Regions from separate parts of the Homo sapiens genome. Here all the other regions are linked to region 4. Evidence: promoter capture Hi-C in 16 types of primary human blood cells and fetal thymus (Javierre and others, 2016). All regions are on one chromosome and are shown on one strand. The core of a region is centred on a gene start or on the middle of the fragment in contact, and the rest is flanking DNA. Distances in the headings are between cores, read along the strand shown.

Region 1 (4,812 bases), core at 1,411-3,910, 770 kb after region 4:
CAATTACCTCTTAACAATGCTGTTGCAAAAAGTCATTCCGCAACAGTTCATGAAAGGATCATTATCCCCGAATAGAGGCATGAGCTCACGCTGACGTTAGTTAGAACGGGGGGGAAAAAAAGGAAAAGATAAACAGAGACCAGAGACGACTCTTTATTGCTCGATTTTTTAGGTTCAAGGCACAGCCAACTAATTTTGTAATGTTTATTTTTGGAAAGAATAGAAGCAGATTAGCCAAGGCACTTCCCTAATGATGAGACCAGGACACATTGCCACCTGCTGGTGTATTCTAGCATGACAATTCTACCCTGAAGACTCTTAAATTGAGTGTTTACATGCAACCGGAAGGAATCCCATTCATATATATATATATATATATATATATATATATATATATACACACACACACACATATACACATATACACACATATATACATATATACACATATATATACATATATATACACATATATATACACACATATATACATATATATACTGACCAAAATGCAAACCTTATCCCCAAACTTAATAAATCTTTCTTAAAAGTACTAAATATCTTATTTTCCCCTATCCTAATAATGTTACAGTGTAAGTATAAAATTAATTGAACCCAATGACTCATCAAATCATGCATTTTGGAGTTCCTCTCTTCCCTTAATACTTGAGGGAAGCCTCAATACTTAAGCTTCAGGAATAAAACAAACTGGGAAAGTTTCCTAATTCACCTTCTCTTCCTTGCATACAAAACCTCTTGGCAAGCTGCTTTCAAGATCTTTCCAAACTTAAACAGACCCACGGTTCTAGCTGTGAGCAAAGAAGGCATTTTGCTGTGGGAAAGCTTCAGAAGATGGTAAGCAAAAGATTGAATTAAGCCAGTGGTTATTCATTCCAGAACTAATTTTTTTAAATGATGAAAATCTCTATAGTCACCTACAAAGCATTAATGATTTAAAAAAAAAAAAAACTGAAAGCCTCTTTAAAGCTGCCGATAGCTCAACTGTTCTAAAGGCTGTAACTATAGGATGCCTTCAGAAAGTCAAGCCAGTCTGGGTAGAACACACTCCTCAGGGTCCGTAGTACTTTACTTAGAAAAATGACATTGATGACCCAATCCACTGGGAAAACCTTTGAGGAGGTTTTCCAATGGGGATGATTCTAAACCACATTCTCATCCTCTTGTCCATTCTTTCAACATGCTTACTAAGTATCTACTATGCATCCCAGACTGTTTTAGGCATTGGTAGTACAGTCCTCAAGACAGGGCCTCCAGCTGTCTTCAGATGATGTCTCTGATGTCAACTCACTTGACATCAACATTTTCAAGACAAGTGTCCAAACAGGTGGCAGAACAAGAAACACATTAAGGTTCTTCCTCTCTCTTTTGGCAAACTGTTTTGTGTATGTCAACTGTTACCCCCCAAAATAAAAAAAAATAGGGGGAATGATGGATAATGAACAGCAGATTAGAGATATTCACTAGTAAGTATGAATACAGGTCAACATTTCTACAGGTCAAAAGGCTTTTTTTAACTTCTTGGCAAAACCACCACATAAATATAAAGACAGACTCTGGGTTTATAAAAAGTTGTTTTACTTTTATAAAATTTAGTACAAATCTTATGGAAATATAAATCGTTCTTGAACAGTGTTCGTTATCATTACACAGTAATCCAGTGCAAATGAGTACTTCATTTTGTCCAAGTATACCACACATTAATTAGCCCTTCATTTACCTGTGGTTTCAGAACTTAGCATTGTCTTAACTGCTGAGTCATCTTCAGTTCACATTGTTCTCTCAGAAGTTTTTTCATAGTTATTAGTAACAACATCAAGAAAAGCTGAAATGAGGGATTCCCTTCCCCTTACCAATTATTCAGATTTCTCACCATTCAAAAAAACCTACATACAGTTCCATGAAAGTGTCCCCAAAACAACAAGATCTGCAGTCCCTTCACTTCTGAGGAGTAAGAGAGAAAAAGAATTGGTACCAGATTAAGCCTGTTCATTTGTCTGGTATGGAACAGGTTGCACTGTGCCAAAATTCAAGAGCCAGCTTTTTTTCTTTTTTTTAAGCTCATGTGCCAGGCCACTCTTTTCTACAAGCTTTTGCTAAAATCAGCATTCCCCAGCATCCTACTTTGACCGCAATTTTGTTGGAAAGAAGCTTACCAGCATTTTAGGGGCGCTCATCATAGAAAAAAAAAAAGTGGAGATTAAGAAAAAAAACAGGAAGTGGAGATGCTGTCAGATTATCTCAATGCCCAGCAAAACTCTTTAACCAAATGACATTCATTTTTAAAGACCCACTGTTAACATGCATTTAAAGTTACTGTTTCCCTAACAGTGATGACTTTATACCATTCCAACCACTCCCTCATACCTGGTTTCTGTGGCCAAGACCATTTTTCATTTTCAAGACCGCTCATGGCTGGGCACGGTGGCTCACACCTGTAATCCCAGCACTTTGGGAGGCCGAGGCGGGTGGGTCATGAAGTCAGGAGTTCAAGACCAGCCTGGCCAACATGGTGAAACCCCGTCTCTACTAAAAATACAAAAAGTAGCCAGGCATGGTGGCACACGCCTGTAGTCCCAGCTACTCGGGAGGCTGAGGCAGGAGAATCACTTGAACACAGAAGGCGGAGGTTGCAGTGAGTTGAGATCACACCACTGCACTCCAGCCTGGGCGACAGAGCAAGACTCTGTCTCAAACAACAACAACAACAACAACAACAACAAAAGACACCATTCATTACGTTAGATTACCAGTGGCCATGGAATGGACTGATGCTTCCTACTGACCAGCCTTGACTCCAGTAGCACCATATGCTTGCTCACCCACTGAGCTAATCAAACACCATTGACTTCAATAACATGGTAAAAATAAATAATCAATAAATACATAAATACTTCATATTTCCATAAAAGCCCTACATTAAAGACCTCCATTAATAAAATGCCACATAATGTATTTATGAAATATACTACAGGGTATTTCATTCATTCACAATAGGTTTAAACTCAGGCAAAGAAGAAACAAGTAACCTATCCAAAGTGAGTGAGTAGCTCTCCAAAGTGGCAAGTGAGTAGCAAAATTAGTTAAAAGAACCCAGGAATTCTGGATTCTTAACCCCTTGTTCTAAGCTTATATTCTTGCTTCTCTTGGAGACTGTCACACTAAGAATTATTATTTTTTTCCTTCCAAGACTGGCCTTGTTTTATTAGTTTGTTCATAGAGTGGTACCTTTTTAGTAAAAATAAGAAAAGTAGGAGGAGTACTAAAAGGGAAAGTATCTAAAATGAAAAAAAAAAATTAACCTCATCCCCCTGAGGCCAGTACACACTTTAAAGTCTTTGGCTCTAGTTTGCAATATGTACAGCAGAGCTGAAATCTAAACTGCCATCTCAAGCACAGTGGAATCCACATGATAAATCCCTATGGAATTTAGTCATAGCCTCAAATGCCTAGGAGATTAATGCACAAAAGCCCTGAGAACTGGCATAGTTTTCCTGGTAGGGCAGAACCCATATAACAGGACTCAGTAAATCTACCCACACTTCATTCATCTCAGATCCAAAGCCCTAACTCTATAGGTTTTGTGCAGAAAAGAGTTAACATAGCAGGCCTAAACTGCTATCCTTGGAGAGGCCTGATTACAGGGTTGGCCACTGGCCGGCATTTGGGAACTTAGATTTTGGAGGGGCTCCCACAATTAACTGATAAGACTGGCTTACTGTGTCTGAACTGCTTGTGCAAACAATATGGCTTATGCTGAACACCTGCTTTCCTTTTGAGAGTCTTGAATTTTGCTATCTGCCAGGGAAAGCCTGCCTAGATGACCTGTCCTCAGTAAAAACTTTGGGCACTGAGTCTGTAGTGACCTTGTCCAGTAGACAACTCATTCACATGTCGTAACAAATCACTGCTAGGGGAATTAAGTGCATCCTGTGTGATTCCATTGGGAGAGGACTCTGGAAACTTGTGCTTGCTTTACCCTAGACTTTGTCTCAGGTGCCTTTTCCTTTTACCGATTTTTCTTTGTATCTTTTCACTATAATAAATCAAAACTATAAGTAAGACTATATGCTGAGTCCACTGAGTCTTCCCAGAGAATTACAGAACCTGGCAGTGGTCTTGGGCACCTCTGGCACAGTTGGTATAGGAGGTTCAGTAAGTAGCCCTCCCCCTCACTGCCAGTTTCACTCTCACCCTCCTATGCCCCTCTGTTTAAGCGACCCAATTCCCCGATCTAATGTTCAGAATGTCAAAGGCGTGTCTCTTCCTGTAAGCCCCTCACTTTATAGTAAATGGGGTAAACTTAGATAAATTGCTATATGGAAAGCAGAAATAAGTGTTTATTGAAAGAGTTACTTCTCAAAGGAACAAGAAATAGCACTAATCTTTTTCGAGTTCCTTTCTAAACTGCCTGAACATCAAACCTCCCAGGGACAGGAGGACCCAGGGTCACCACAAATGAAAACAAATGCCAGTTGTACTCACTTCACAGTTCTCACTTATTCCCAACTACCATGGAGTATTCTCACTTTCTACAACTGTGCTACTGTAGAAGTTAGTGTTTTAATACTGGTATATGCTCGGCTTGAAGACTGACCAAATTGATCAATACATTTAGCCCTTTATTGAAACCTAAGTTTGTTATAAGTGTAATTATGTAACAGTCATATTTCCAACCTGGTTCCCATGGCTGACTTAACCCAATCCATAATCTGGAGCAAGCCTTGGCTAGTGTATTTTGAGATGTCCGTTGTGTTTCAGCTGCCGTTCCTCACTCCGCCTGCTTCTCCAAGC
Region 2 (4,850 bases), core at 1,041-3,540, 780 kb after region 4:
CTGGCTAAAATATTTGGAACTAGAAGGCAAGGGCATAGGCAAGGAAGGTGAAAATGGTAAGCTCCTAGGAGGGGCTGTGTATTTCAAGAGCATTAGGAGTCTGCACTTGGTTCAATCACAGTTTGGATCTCCGGAGGCCCTTGCTCTTGAAGAAGACAAGAGTCTGGGTTCATTGATAGTGGAGATTTTCTTCCACTCTTCTGAAGGCAATCTGTCTGTATATAGAAGGCATGATTCCCTTCCTTCCAGGGGGAATACAGGGCCAGCTGGAGTAGGAGAAACTTTTTGGTCTCAGTGGAGGTAGGTGGAATGATTCCATCGGTACCAAGATCTGGAAGGAAGAAAGAAGTCAATCCTAAAGCTAATAATGTGATGGCGTAAGATGGGAATGGGGAGTGACTGCTAGCAGGTACAGGGGCTTTTGCAGGTAGGAGTAATAAAAACATCCTGGAATTAGATAACGCTGATGGTTGCACAACCTTGTGAATATACTAAAAACCACTGAACTGCACACTTTAAAACGGTGAATTTTATGGTATATGAATTATACCTCGAAACAATTTTTTAAAGCTGGTAATGTATATTATATGGTCCTCTTTCTCTCTCTCAGTAGGGGTAGGTGAGGAGCGCCAACGTTTCGGGCTATGCAACAATTGGCCAATAAGAACTGGCTGCCTTGCTGAACCGCCTGGATTTGGACAGCTGGGTTCATCTTTTCTGACGAACTCAGGTCTGTAACCTACACATCTCTGTGTTGTTCTGAATCAGGGCAGAATCTCTCTTTCACAAGGCATCAGCTCTGAGAATACTTTTTAGAGTAGATTCTTTGCTTCATGAACTGAAGCCCAGGAGGCTGCCTGCCCCACTGCATCCCAGCTGGGAGTGGGAGACAGGAATTGGCACCACTTCCCCCTTTCCCTGTGTCAGCCATGTTTGAAGCCCAGGGTTTTCTTTGTGCCTAAGCTCTGGGCTCACATCAGAACCTCCTGAGAACTGGGTTCCCATGAAGCCCAGCAAAGGACCTGGCTCTTTCTGACATGAGTGTTTGGAAATTTCCACCCTCAAAGTAAGGATGGAAATTTTGACTTTGTTGACATCAGCTCCTTGCCAGGATGGCTCACTGACTGAAGCTTCTTTTTAAAATCTCCACTCCCTAGGGATAAAGTCCAGTCTGGCTGTCACTCTGTCCTCTCTGTGCCACCCCATTCCTCTTTTCCAACCCTTTCTATGACAAGCTTTCTTTCCCAAGGCATAGGCTCAGCTTCTCACATGTCCCTTGGCCCTGCTGGGATGTCTCTGCACCGTCCCCTTCACCTTACCCTGAAGAGTTAAAACTGGAGGCGGAGTTCACTGCTGCTTTGGAGTTATTTTGAGATGCAGTGGGGCTGCTGGCGTGGAGTCCTGAGCCAGGAGATGAAGGCCTGCTGTTGTTCCCAGGGGAACAGGATGACGTTACTGAGGATAAGGAGAGGCAAAAACAAGGGGGAAATAATGCTGCTGGATCCCGGGACATCGGGACATAGCCCCTCAGACACAAATTTCCTGGTGTATCCCCAAAGGGACCTCACCCTCTCCCTAGCCACACCCACCTGACTACCTCCTGCCTCATTAGCATCAACTTCTGCCCACACCCAGAGGGGCTGTCGTCACAAATGCTCTCTGCAGCCCAGGCCCTGGAGAGTGGTGTGGCTGGTTCTGCAAGTCTAAGACTTGCCAAATCCAAGGACAGATGCCAAAATCATCCTACTCTAGGACACACCCTAGGCTGGGCACATGCAGCCCCAGACCAAGAGGCGGTAGGAGAAAAAGAACAAGAAGGAAGAGAGGAGGAAAGAAAGGCAAGTGCATAGGGGAGAAAGAGAACTTGAGGGCACGATGAAAGATTGCCAGCTGCTCTAGTTCTCCAGTCTCCACAAAGAAAAGGTGCTTGGTTTTCTAGAAACTAGAGTAATGAACTGAACTGGGCATGGTGGCTCATGCCTGTAGCCCAACACTTTTGGGAGGCTGAGGCAGGAGGGCCGATTAAGCCCAGGAATTCAAGATCAACCTGGGCAACATGGCGAAACCCAGTCTCTGCAAAAAATACAAAAATTAGCCAGGTGTGATGACATGCACCTGTAGTCTCAGCTACTCAGGAGGCTGAGGTGGGAGGATCACTTGAGCCTGGGAGGTCGAGGCTGCAGTTAGCCATGATTGTGTCACCACATTGCCTGGGCAACAGAGCAAGACGCTGTCTCAAAAAACAAAACAAAACAAAAACAAAAAGAACAATGAACTGGGAGTGAGGGGACCTGAGCCCTGTCTTGGTCCCCAGCCATCAACTCAGCAGCTCTGTGGCCTGTGCTGATTTGTTTCACTTTCCTGAAACTTATTTTCATCCTCTGTGAAATGGCAGATTTGTATTTGGATTAACTCTTGTGTTTGTGTTTCCCAAACTGTGTTCTATGGATAGGGTGACATATATTTTACCATCCAAACTAAGACCCTAAGACACTTTGAAAAGTGGAAGGGGCTGAGTGCGGTGGCTCACGCCTGTAATCCCAGCACTTTGGGAGGCCGAGGCGGGCAGATCACTTGAGGTCAGGAGTTCAAGACCAGCCTGACCAACATGGAGAAACCCTGTCTCTACTAAAAATACAAAAAATCAGCCGAGCGTGGTGGCACACGCCTGTAATCCCAGTTACTCGGGAGGCTGTGGCAGAAGAATTGCTTGAACCTGGGAGGCAGAGGGTGTGGTGAGCTGAGATCGTGCCATTGCACTGCAGCCTGGGCAACAAGGGTGAAACTCTGTCTCAAAAAAAAAAAAAAAAAAAAAAAAGTGGAAGGAAGTGCTATTGATAATTATGTCAGGACATGAAGCAGACACTGGGACTGTCCTGGCCACCCTTGGGCATGCGATCATCCTGTCTAGTGCGTTGAAATAATTAGGTGCTTTTTGAGGACTAGAGTATTACTTTGGGAAGCCTTGCCTCCCCTGGGCCTTCCACACAGTTCATTTTGGAATTTTATGCACCTAAGTGCTTAGAAGTGCTGCAGTTAAAGCAAAACAAAACAAAACAATTCGCTTGTTTAAACTGGGCTTCCTCAGCATTTTCCAGACTTATTTGATCACAGAACCCTTTTTTCCCAACACAGATTTTAATATCCTTTGAAATGCATTTAGGGAAGCCTGACTTAGGTAGATACCTTTCAGTTCTAATATCCCATTTTTTAAAAGAATTCTGGTGTTCTTCAGAAATCTCATTTTAAAGCTCACCTGTTCCAGGCATGGTACTGTGGACAGGAGGGACAGAGAGGGGGCCCAGAGACCCTGAGGGAGATACCTGAAAAACAACAGAAGCTTGTAAATGTCCATTTCTGCTCCCTTCTCCAACTTCAGATCACTCTCCAAAGACAGTAGGCCCCAGACTCTACAGAGACCAGGGCTTGGCTTCCTTGGTGATTTCCTAGCCTACATGCCATCCTCCTTTCTATGGGAAGGCCTCTGGACCACATACTGGCATCCAGAACCAGGTCCAGTCTGCCCCGGAAGTTCCCTGGTGTCAACACCAGGGCCCTCCAGCCCCTGACAATGTGTATTGCCTGATAAGGTTTCTTTGACACTGCCAAGCCGAAGGCTGCCTTGCCTGAGAGCCCTGGAGGTGAGCAAGACAAGCCTCTTGGGCCCTGCTGTGGCAGATACTGCTGGTTGCCTGTCATTTTCTGGTCTCCATTGCTTTTTCCCTAAAAGAACCCTGCTTTTGCTGAGGACAGCAGGGTTGCTCAGCCTAGCAGCCTCTCGCAGGCTTTCCCACTGTGATGGATGAATGGAGCATGGACTCTCCAGAGGTGACTGGAGGCACTGAACTTTGGTCTCTGAAGCTTTTTATTTTGCCCTGGAGACCTCATAGCATCATCAGCTCTGAGATTAGAAAGGGACCTGGGATAACTTTGTTTACCCTCCCATGCAATTCAGGAACCTCCCCCTCACTGTTACTATCCTAGAACAATGTAGAACAAGATGTAATAGAAAGAATAGACTTTGGAGCCCAACAGGTCTGGGAGTAAGACAGCTCCACCACTATCTGTGTGACTTTGGGCAAGTTATCTAACCCTACTGAGATTTGGTTTTCTCATCTGTAAAATAGCAGCAATACTTCCATTATATATTTTAATTAAGTCATAATGAGATAATGTCTGTAAAGCTTCCAACCCAACAGCTGGCAAAGAGTGTCAGCTTGTTAAATGCTAGTTCTCTCCCTTTCTGGAAGAAGCAGCTGTCAACTGCTGTATATTTCTAGATGTTATTCGACTCTTCTTTTGAGCTAAAATCTGTGTATTTTCACTGCCCCTTATTCTTCTCATGCTAACAGGGGAAGCTCTGACCAGGTGTTCGCAAAGGCTATTGAAAGGTAGTTCTGCTCTCCCCAGTTTGGAAGATCCCACCCTAACAGGATGCAGCATGTACTTATTTCGTCATTAATCAGAAATGGTTTTCCTGTTTTCATTTACTTTTCCTTATACAATGAGCCTCCTCAGTAGGCTGGGGGCCTGTGAAGGGTGGAGACGGGCACAGGTTGGGAGGGGTGGCAGAGTGGTAAGAGATGTTATCAATAATCTCCCTACCTCTTCTCCTCCCTCCCTGCTGTCACACCCAAGACATGTGTTGTTGTTGTTGTTGTTGTTGGTTTGAGATGGAGTCTCGCTCTGTCACCCAGGCTGGAGTGCAATGGCACGATCACGGTTCACTGCAACCTCTGCCTCCTGGGTTCAAGCGATTCTTTTGTCTCAATCTCCCGAGTAGCTGGGATTACAGGCACCTGCCACCATGCCCAGCTAATTTTTGTATTTTTAGTAGAGACAGGGTTTTG
Region 3 (4,617 bases), core at 1,121-3,620, 590 kb after region 4:
TGTGCTTGGGCGCCATGGTGGTCGGAGCGCACAGGAAGGAGTTTGTTCTCTTGGATTTATCTTTAATTTCTTCCATCTATCTGCCTCTGGTATATCCACTAAGAAGAATATTTGATCTTAAATGTACCTGCCATGTCTTTTCCGAAGGTCCCTTTGAAGGTTCATCACACATTCATAATGATCCCTCTGCATAAATGGGGCCAGCTGAGGCACACGGTGAGCAGGTGACTTGTTGTCACCTTGCTGAGTGGCACATATCATATCATGTCACCATGTCTTAGAAACTATTGCAGCGGCCCTCTAGCTCATCTCCCTGCCTTTAAATTGGCTCCCTCCAATATGTCTACAAATGGCTGCCAGAGTGATGTCTCTAAAACAAGCTTCACCACTTTACACCCTTGCTGAAAACCCCTTCATGACCTCATATTGAGTCCAAAACTTTTTTTTTTTTAAGACGGAGTCACTCCTCTGTCACCAGGCTGGAGTGGAGTACAGTGGCGGAATCTCGGCTCACTGCAACCTCTGCCTCCCGGGTTCAAGCGATTCTCCTGCCTCAGCCTCCTGAGTATCTGGGACTACAGGCACCCGCCACCACGCCCGGCTAACCTTTGTATTTTTAGTAGAGATGGGGTTTCACCATGTTGGCCAGGCTGGTCTCCAACTCTTGACCTCGTGATCTGCCCGCCTCGGCCTCCCAAAGTGCTGGGATTACAGGCGTGCACCACCGCACCCAGCCTCGAGTCCAAAACTTCTTAGCACAGCATACAAGTTCCCTGCTTACTTCCCCACCTCACCCATCATCCATTTCTGTCCATCTCACCTTCAGTCAGTACCAAGCAGCACTGAGTTCTCTGCTCATCCCATTTCATACCTCTGTGCCTTTAACACACTGAATTCTGCCCAGAGTCCCCACCCTACCTCCCACATACACACTGATACACAAGTTCCTATTAACCGCTCAGAATTCTGTTTGGGAACCTCTCCTACTAGAAGTTTATCATACCTGGCTATCTAGTCCCTTCCCAACAGAAGTAATTACTCCCTTCTCGGGATCTCTCTTGTGCTTGTTAGAGTTTATGGTCACTTACTTGTTTCACGTCTGCTCTCACTAATAGACTGTGAGCTTGTTCTCCTGGATTTATATTTTAGCTTCTCCCTTCTTTGTATTTGCCTCAGGTATATCCGCAAATCAGATATTTGATCTTAAATTTACCTACCATTTCTTTTCCAAAGGTCCCTTGAAGGTTCATCTCAAGTTCATAATTAGACTATAGGCTTTTTAAAAAATCTCTGGCCGGGCACAGTGGCTCACACCTGTAATCTCAGCACTTTGGGAGGCCGAGGCGGGTGGATCACCTGAGGTCAGAGTTTGAGACCAGCCTGGCCAACATGGAGAAACCCTGTCTCTACTAAAAATACAAACTTATCCGGGCGTGGTGGCATGGGACCTGTAGTCCCAGCTACTCAGGAGGCCGAGGCAGGAGAATCACTTGAACTGGGGAGGCAGAGGTTGCTGAGATCGTGCCATTGCACTCCAGCCTGGGCAACAAGAATGAAACTCCAGCTCAAAAAAAAAAAAAAAAAAATCTATTAACCACACAGTGCTTGGCATAGGAGATTCTTAGTAAATGTGTTGAATGGATAAACCAATAGAGAGAAGGGGTTAATGAGGTCTACAGTTCTGGCAAATCGGATTTGCTCCTGTCATTTGTCCAGATGAGTCAGATGAAATCCTAACTGGCAAATATGAAACTGTGCCCTTGGTAAGCTTAAAGTCTTTACAACCTAAGTTGAAGCTGGGGTTCACATTTGAGGAACTTAGGTTGAAGGAAGCAAGGGCCTGATTATATATCATATTGCAAGACTATTAAAATTCATCAGTCCTATCGGAGTACTTAAACTCCAGATTAAAAGAAAATAAATTCTGTGTTCTTCTTGTCACTTGTTTGGAGGATAAATGGTTCATTCTTACAGCAGATGTCTCACAGAACCAGTTTTGAAGCAGAAGTGAGTTAGAAGGAGAAATGTTCTCGATGTTTACTCATGCTTTAAAGGATGCAGTAAGCAGTGGTTTTGCCCAGTGATATTATGGGCAAGTATTGGCAAAGAGCAAACATATATGTGTGTGTGGTTCACATAGTCCCCAAGTCTCATGGCAGCATGCTGTTTAACGCAGCTGGCTGCAAATACTACATCGAATGTTAAAAGGTCCCATCCCCACTTGACAACTATATTATTACACAGCTCCCTCCCCGCAATGTCTCTTGTCTCATTTATTAGTCTAGGTGTAAAGAATACTGCTCGCATTGAAATTAAAAGAAAAATTTAGATCATCCTTAATCAGAATATAACCTGCCTCTCATTCCGCAGCCCTGCTCCCATCCCTCATGTGAGAACCTAATTCATTTCTACCACGTGTCTCAGTTTCCACTTGCTATTCTGCAGAGGAGATAAGCTGCTGTGACAATAGTTCTTCAAGACATCTTTGGTGCCTATTATGTGCCAGGCACCAAAGACAAAATAGGAAACCAGACAAATCCAGGGCTGGTCCCTTTAGCGTTGGTAGTCAAGTAAAAGATGTTATAGAGGCACTACATTTTCCTTCTAACAGTTTTGGTCCACTTGACATCAGGTATGTTCTTTATGGCATTTTGCAATTAACTCAGTTACACGGTCATAGTTTAGTCTGACAGTCTGGATGGAGGCAGGGGAAGGGGCGTGCAACTTTTGGCAACTCAAGAGTTGGAGCCAAGGGCTTTAGCACACAGAGGCTTGGGTATGCACTCAGAATTCTCAGTCTGAATCTTCCATAGACCTGCATTGTAGCCGGGAGTCTTCCACTATGGCCATGCCTGTCTGGGAAAGGGGACTTGCTGCTCATTTGCACAAATAAAGGCTTTAACCAGTTCCACCATAGTAGGGGTACTATGCTTACATCTCTAAAAGCGGGATTTTACTTGTGATAAGCTTTATACTTTCACATTCATCTTTCGTCATTTGATTTTCATAGTTGGTCCAGGTAGGTTCCATTACATGACATTATAGATACAAACCACTCAGTCAGGAAATAGCAAAACTGGGCTAAAACTCAGGGCTTCCGGCTGCATGAAAGACACTGGTCAAAGATCACTATGAAAGTCAAGCTGTGTAAAATGTTAAGCAAGTATTAAAGCCGCAGTATTTTCCCCCATCCTTTTACTGTTTTTCTTCACCACTTCCAACAATAAGAGCAACTGAAGAAACAATCCACTCAAACAGGAGGAAGAGGTCGGAGGAGGAGGAACAGAGTGGCATTTTCTACCTGGGAGCAAAGCACAATCACTTAGCAATGGAAGGTACAGAGAAAAGGATCTGTCTTCTCAATGAAACCACCCCCGGATATCGAAAATAAGGTGGCAGTTTTCATATTGCCCCAGGTGTCTGGGGTTTGCAATTTATCTAGAGTATAGTTTTGTCTGAAGACTGGCATTAAATATTCCTATAAATTATTATGAAATAACACAGGGATATTATAAAGGCATTCAAAGGCAAAAAAGCGTGTGCATATACATATGTGCATATATGTCTATATGTGTATACATATTTCTGTATATATGTACTTCATAGATACATATATCTCTCATCATATGTGTAACTCAGCATCATGCAATAGAGCAATAATTTATTGTACAGCTTCTGTCTGCCAGGTACAGCATAGTATTAGACACTATAGGGTACAGAAAGAAAAACTGGCCATGGTTTCTACTGTCAAAAAGAATACAGACTCATGCATTTAATTTTCCCTCCTAAAGGAAAACCTTTAAATTTTATCTCAGAGCAATGCTTAGGAATTTGGGCTCTCTTAAGGAATTCAGAATAGCAAAAGGTATAAGATTCTATTCACCCAGGAGGGACTTCTTACTCTTCGTAGCTCAGTAAGGGATAGGTTACTTTCAAGAGGGGTATTATATAGGAGGCTATGCCCAAGTGTGAAATACTAGAAGAGATACCTTACCAGTGAGCTGCAATTATAACAAAGGTTTCCTTTATAACAACAGTTAACATACACTCATTTCCATCTTGTTCTTCCAGATTCCAGGCAAAAATCTTCATTTTAAAACAATTCAGTTATCTTAATTCGGAAAAGACAAAAGGGAAATGTAGTAGCTATCTTCAAATACTTAAGATCTTTCTTACGTTGCTCCACAACCAGGACCAGTGGATAGAAGTTACAGAGAGGCGGCCGGGCACGGTGGCTCATGCCTGTAATCCCAGCACTTTGGGAGACCGAGGCGGGTAGATTACCTGAGATCAAGAGTTCGAGACCAGCCTGGCCAATATGGTGAAACCCCATCTTTACTAAAAATACAAAAATTAGCCGGGCATGGTAGCACGCACCTGTAATCCCAGCTACTCGGGAGGCTGAGGCAGGAGAATTGCTTGAGCCCGGGAGGCAGAGGTTGCAGTGAGCCAAGATCGTGCCCTGCACTCCAGCCTGGCCGATAGAGCGAGACTCTGTCTCAAAAAAAAAGAAGTTACAGAGAGGCCACTTTTAGCTCAAATAAGAAAGAATTTATGAGTTGCCTCAGGAGATAATGAGCTCCCCAGCCCTGGAAGTATACAAGCAGATGGATGGCC
Region 4 (4,391 bases), core at 1,750-4,249:
AATCTCTACTACAGTATTATACACAGGTACTTATTTCTGAAGTTAACAGTAACAAATTATGTCCTGGCATGGATTTATCCTTCATGGGGAACTTTTTAGGAGTCATGCCCAAGTATGAATGAGGGCTCAAATTCACACTGAATTATCATCATCTGTATGGAAAGATTAATTGGTATTTTGGGCTGCACTGATTGGCCAATCTGCCTAGGGAATGGAAAACCCATAATACCGCATGGAGGAGACGGAAAACCATGGCCAGGGAGAATGACCCTAACTTCCTCTTCTGCTGCAAAGGTGAGGCAGTTTGCAAGATTCTTCTCTTCGTGGGTGATCCTAATTAGTTCACAATTTTGAATAGGAAAGAACGGACTGTTAAATATTTTTAATTTTAAGAAGGATACAAACATTAAGAATATCTAATATGGTAAATAATACTTGTCAAATGAAAAAGAGGGTGCTAAACACAAGGGCGTAGGTTTAAACTACGGTAATTAACACTGCAGAAGCCATTATTATTTTTATATATATATATAAAACTGTTAGCAGCATGGCCTATCAATAACATCAGAGTTGCTAAAAGAAAGAATATCCCTATCCATGCTTGCCCTAAGCTGAGAATTTCACAATAAACATAGCTATGTTTCCAGGATTTTTTTTTTCCCACCAAATAAAATGTACTTTCTTGGAGCTGGGGTAGGAGGTTGAAGTCAAGGGCCCTCTTTCATTCCCGTGGGGTTTCACACTATGGTTTAACTGCTTAAATTCACCAATTCTGGAAAAATATTAGCACTGCACAGGGGCTTGACGTGTTCATCTCAGACTTGTACTCATGTGCCACTTGAACTAGACAAACTCGCAAGGTAAAGAAAGGTGCCTTAGAATTTTAGCCATAAAAAGTTAAAATCTACGTAGACCGCCCCGTCTTTGTCTAAAATCCAAAACAACAGTAGAAAAAAGACATATGTGGCCTTTCACTTACCCAGGGCAGTGCTACACAGAGAAAAAGAAGGAATCACTGAGGGGAAAAATTGTCTTATTTAAGTTTTAGATTTGAGGGCCACGTAAAAGGTCACTGATACACAAACCACTGACATCAATGCTATTGTAATTTCCTAGTTTTTGGCCGAAATAAGTAGATTCTTTAAAGTCTCCACCACAAATTAAATGCCTTAATGGAAATCAGTGATCAGACATGAAGTGCACATACCCCTATCTTATCTACTTTTAATGGAAATAATTTTGCGTAATTTTAAAGATCTACTCCACTAGCACAGGGCAAGCTGGTACATACAAATAGTATTTGAAGTTAAATAAGAAAAAAGTGGGAATATAAGTAAACCTCATTTAAAGTTAATGAATTTTACCCTTGATAATAGAATTTAATTACATTTTTCTCTTGTATCTGTAGACACACATGCACCTGCCCTTACAATTGTGGTTCCAATAAAAGTGTCTCTTTATCAATTCAAGAGCATGCTAACTGAGAGCTTTATGGAATTCTGTAGTACTCACCTTGGTGCTGTACAAGTGCGAAGATGAAAGAGACCCAAATTCTAAGGAATGATGAATAATTCATCCTGGAATTTTAAAAAGAAAATGAAAAAAAAATCCCCAGCTTGCCAGAGTAAACAGAACACCAGGTGTGTTTAGTGGCTAATCCCAAGACCATCAAAACCGTCATAGAACAAATTCACATAACAACATCAACAGTGCTGAGTCGGGCTGAAATCCCCTGAATGCTGGCAGGTCCTCCGAAGTTCAACACTTCATGAACAAATTAGATGCCCAGAAGAAGCCAGTCTGGAAGTGTAATGAGATCATTCAAACTGTCAAGTAATTATTTAGGATCAGTGAGAGTGGTATGCGTAAAGGAAAGGTATCCCCTCTGCATCAAATAAAGCGCTGAAAACTAGGACCCAACGCTAAAGATGCATGCAGGTCCCGGGTTGTGTCTCTGCAGCAGAAACCACACCCCAGTGAGACCTGGATTTCCTAATTTTCACTACAGCTTTCCATCAGAATCAAACAAAAGTTGGTTAAAACACAATGTGTTCTACAGCTAGGAGAATTTAGAGTCTGCCATCACCTTCTCCATAGAATGGAGCCGATCCATCATTTTGAAGTATTGACCAGATTCAGGGCCAGTCTACTCTGTTCACTGACTTCCCACAGTGAAATGAATGATAGAAACATTAGTAATAAAAAAGGACCAATCCAGAGTTGGAATCACAATAAAAATAGAATCCAGCGCACAAGCAACCAATTAGTTCCAGCAAGTTAATTAAAGAAGGAACACAGCAAAGAGAAACTTGTTTTCGTGTTAGTTTACAATCGGTTGCATGGTGGCTTTACCCTCCATCAGGAGCATGTTTTGTCTGTGTCACTCTGCAAAGCTGCGATGAGAACACGGACGCAAGCTCAAGTTAGACATCACCCAAGCGTGTGGCTAGACCATGAAGTCTCCTCCTGACAGTATTCTTAAAAAAGAAAAACCTTCCTCTTATCATTTGAAGTTATCACAATTCTTCAGCCAAACTTTCACGGGAAAGGCAATGAATTTATCCTGTGAGAGTTTTATTGCAAATCTTTAGTTGTCAAGTATATATGTTGTAATTTCAAGCACATATTAAATATTAGACAGTTTTGCTGGAAAGGGTACAAAGGTTTAGCAGAGATCACACACAGCTTTAATGGAGAAGATGCCGTGCAAGTTTAAGACTAGAGCCCTTAGGGAACCGGTTCAGAGAGAAGTAAGGAGGATTCATTTAGATATTTGTATTTATGAAAAATGTCACTAACCTGTTCTGTAGAGGCTGGAGGAACTGAGTCAGAAATATTAAGCCAAATCTTGGTAAGCCAGAAAAAATTAGGTAAAACAAGAATTCATGTCAGTTCTCCTCAACTTGTTGCCAATAATTTCTGATTCCTGAAATAATGTCTGAATCTCGTACTCTTAAAACCAAAAATTAAGTTAGTCCTGCACTAGAGACAGGTAAGTGTTGAGCTGCAATCAAGTTTTTTTCTATTGATTAAGGAAAAGTAAATCTAAAGATCAGTTTCAGGATTGCGTAGAGAGGTTCTTTTCCTGAAAAACTAGACCTTTTTTTTTCCCCTTTGAAAAAAAAAGTAGATTCAGATGGAAATGTCAGGTACTTGGAGCTGAAACCTTGGGCCTTTCTGATCAGAATCACTTTGCACTGAAAAACACAAAAGAAAACCCCCCTTCTACCTTTGTACCCAAAAGAAGGCAACTGTATAATGTTACAGAATTAGCATCCACCAGCATGGGATTAAAACTCCAAACAAAGCAGCTGCCTCCAACATTTAAATGAAGTTGGTTTTCTATTAAAGTCTTTTTTTGTTTCTCTGGTTTTCAACAGTCGCCACAGATAGGCTCTACTCTATTTTTTCACAGGTATGCATGAAGTATTTAAAGAAAATTTCCAAACTTTTTAGGTTTTATGCCCTCTCTTTTCTCTCTGATGCACCGCTCTGCAGGAGATAGGACAGGGCACTTTCCAGGCAAAATCTAACAAGGGACCTAGCGCTAGACACGATCTTCCACAAGGGAAATCTCAAACTGTGGCCTGGAAACCTTCCCTAACACCCAGTGAGGGTCACTGGAGGCAGAGGGGGGAGATAAACCCCTTCTGATAAAAAATTTGCAGTAAGTAAATAGTTTAAAAGGCATGTGAATAAGAGGAAAACGTGCTCGGTTAGATGCTTCCAAGCATCCAGTAGATGTGGAATGAGCAAAACTGGCTAAGGCATAAGCTAAATCTACTATTCAAAATGTTTAAATGGAATTTATTAAGAAAGAAGTAACTTGACTGTAGCAGGAAAAAAAAACTCTTCTGCACATCAATGGGAATTTAAAAATTACTGCAAATTTTCTCTGACCAGACATTTAAATGCCAACTGTACAAAAGAAATATAATTCTGGGTTTAAGCATGTTGTCTTAAAATGGACAAGAGTGCTTGGCGAGCTAAATTTTTTTAGTTTAAATTACTCCGTGTTTTTCCAAAAACCTGTGATAATTCAGTAGGTTTCCCACATTGTTTATTCTCTCACTGGTATTATGAATCCTCCACACATATTTACTTACAGATGTTAAATGACTGCTTCTTTCCAAATGACTCACATTTATTTGTTTTTCTTTGGATTCTAGGAGTGCTTAGAATGGCGTATATTTATATAACAGAAAAGCTAGTTTCTTGGGTGCCTATTTAAAATAAAATTAAGTTCAAATCAAAGACTCATTACAGAAGGATTCTCTTTGTCCAGCCTTAGGTTTTAGTCCAGTAGCCAACCTAAATGTCTTGAAGCAAAATCGCTGGCTGTGTTTTAATTAACTGCTGGTGGCATACTAATTGCTTTCTTCCTTTTTCAT

Evidence for each region. The method cuts DNA at HindIII sites, captures the fragments that hold promoters and counts their contacts. A CHiCAGO score of 5 or more calls a contact.
Region 1: a contact is called between a fragment that was not itself captured here and the fragment with the promoter of TECTA in region 4, in 1 of 17 cell types (naive CD4 T cells). The highest score is 6.2, in naive CD4 T cells.
Region 2: a contact is called between a fragment that was not itself captured here and the fragment with the promoter of TECTA in region 4, in 1 of 17 cell types (naive CD4 T cells). The highest score is 5.1, in naive CD4 T cells.
Region 3: a fragment that was not itself captured here is called in contact with the fragment with the promoter of TECTA in region 4 in 7 of 17 cell types (M1 macrophages, naive CD4 T cells, monocytes and 4 more); the score reaches 6.5 in M1 macrophages.

Annotation. Positions count from the first base shown.
Region 1 is chr11:120,330,450-120,335,261 of GRCh38, reverse strand. TLCD5 (TLC domain containing 5) reads right to left here. Exons shown (of 3, transcript NM_001198671.2): 3 at 1,576-4,812. The coding sequence ends at 4,747. Among named protein-coding and RNA genes, the nearest start is that of ARHGEF12, 3.6 kb to the left of the region's middle. The HindIII fragment of the contact is 977 bases long and covers 2,172-3,148 here.
Region 2 is chr11:120,313,834-120,318,683 of GRCh38, reverse strand. It overlaps POU2F3 (POU class 2 homeobox 3), which reads right to left. Exons shown (of 13, transcript NM_014352.4): 11 at 3,257-3,323; 12 at 1,320-1,455; 13 at 1-331. The coding sequence ends at 292. Among named protein-coding and RNA genes, the nearest start is that of TLCD5, 9.0 kb to the left of the region's middle. RefSeq lists a cis regulatory region at 4,801 and an enhancer at 4,729-4,850. The HindIII fragment of the contact is 2,105 bases long and covers 1,238-3,342 here.
Region 3 is chr11:120,504,704-120,509,320 of GRCh38, reverse strand. No RefSeq gene overlaps it. Among named protein-coding and RNA genes, the nearest start is that of GRIK4, 4.7 kb to the left of the region's middle. The HindIII fragment of the contact is 1,199 bases long and covers 1,771-2,969 here.
Region 4 is chr11:121,099,851-121,104,241 of GRCh38, reverse strand. It overlaps TECTA (tectorin alpha), which reads right to left and starts at 2,999. Exons shown (of 24, transcript NM_005422.4): 1 at 2,800-2,999; 2 at 1,513-1,577. The coding sequence starts at 1,576. TBCEL-TECTA (TBCEL-TECTA readthrough) reads right to left here. Exons shown (of 30, transcript NM_001378761.1): 8 at 1,513-1,577. The HindIII fragment of the contact is 15,442 bases long and covers 1-4,391 here.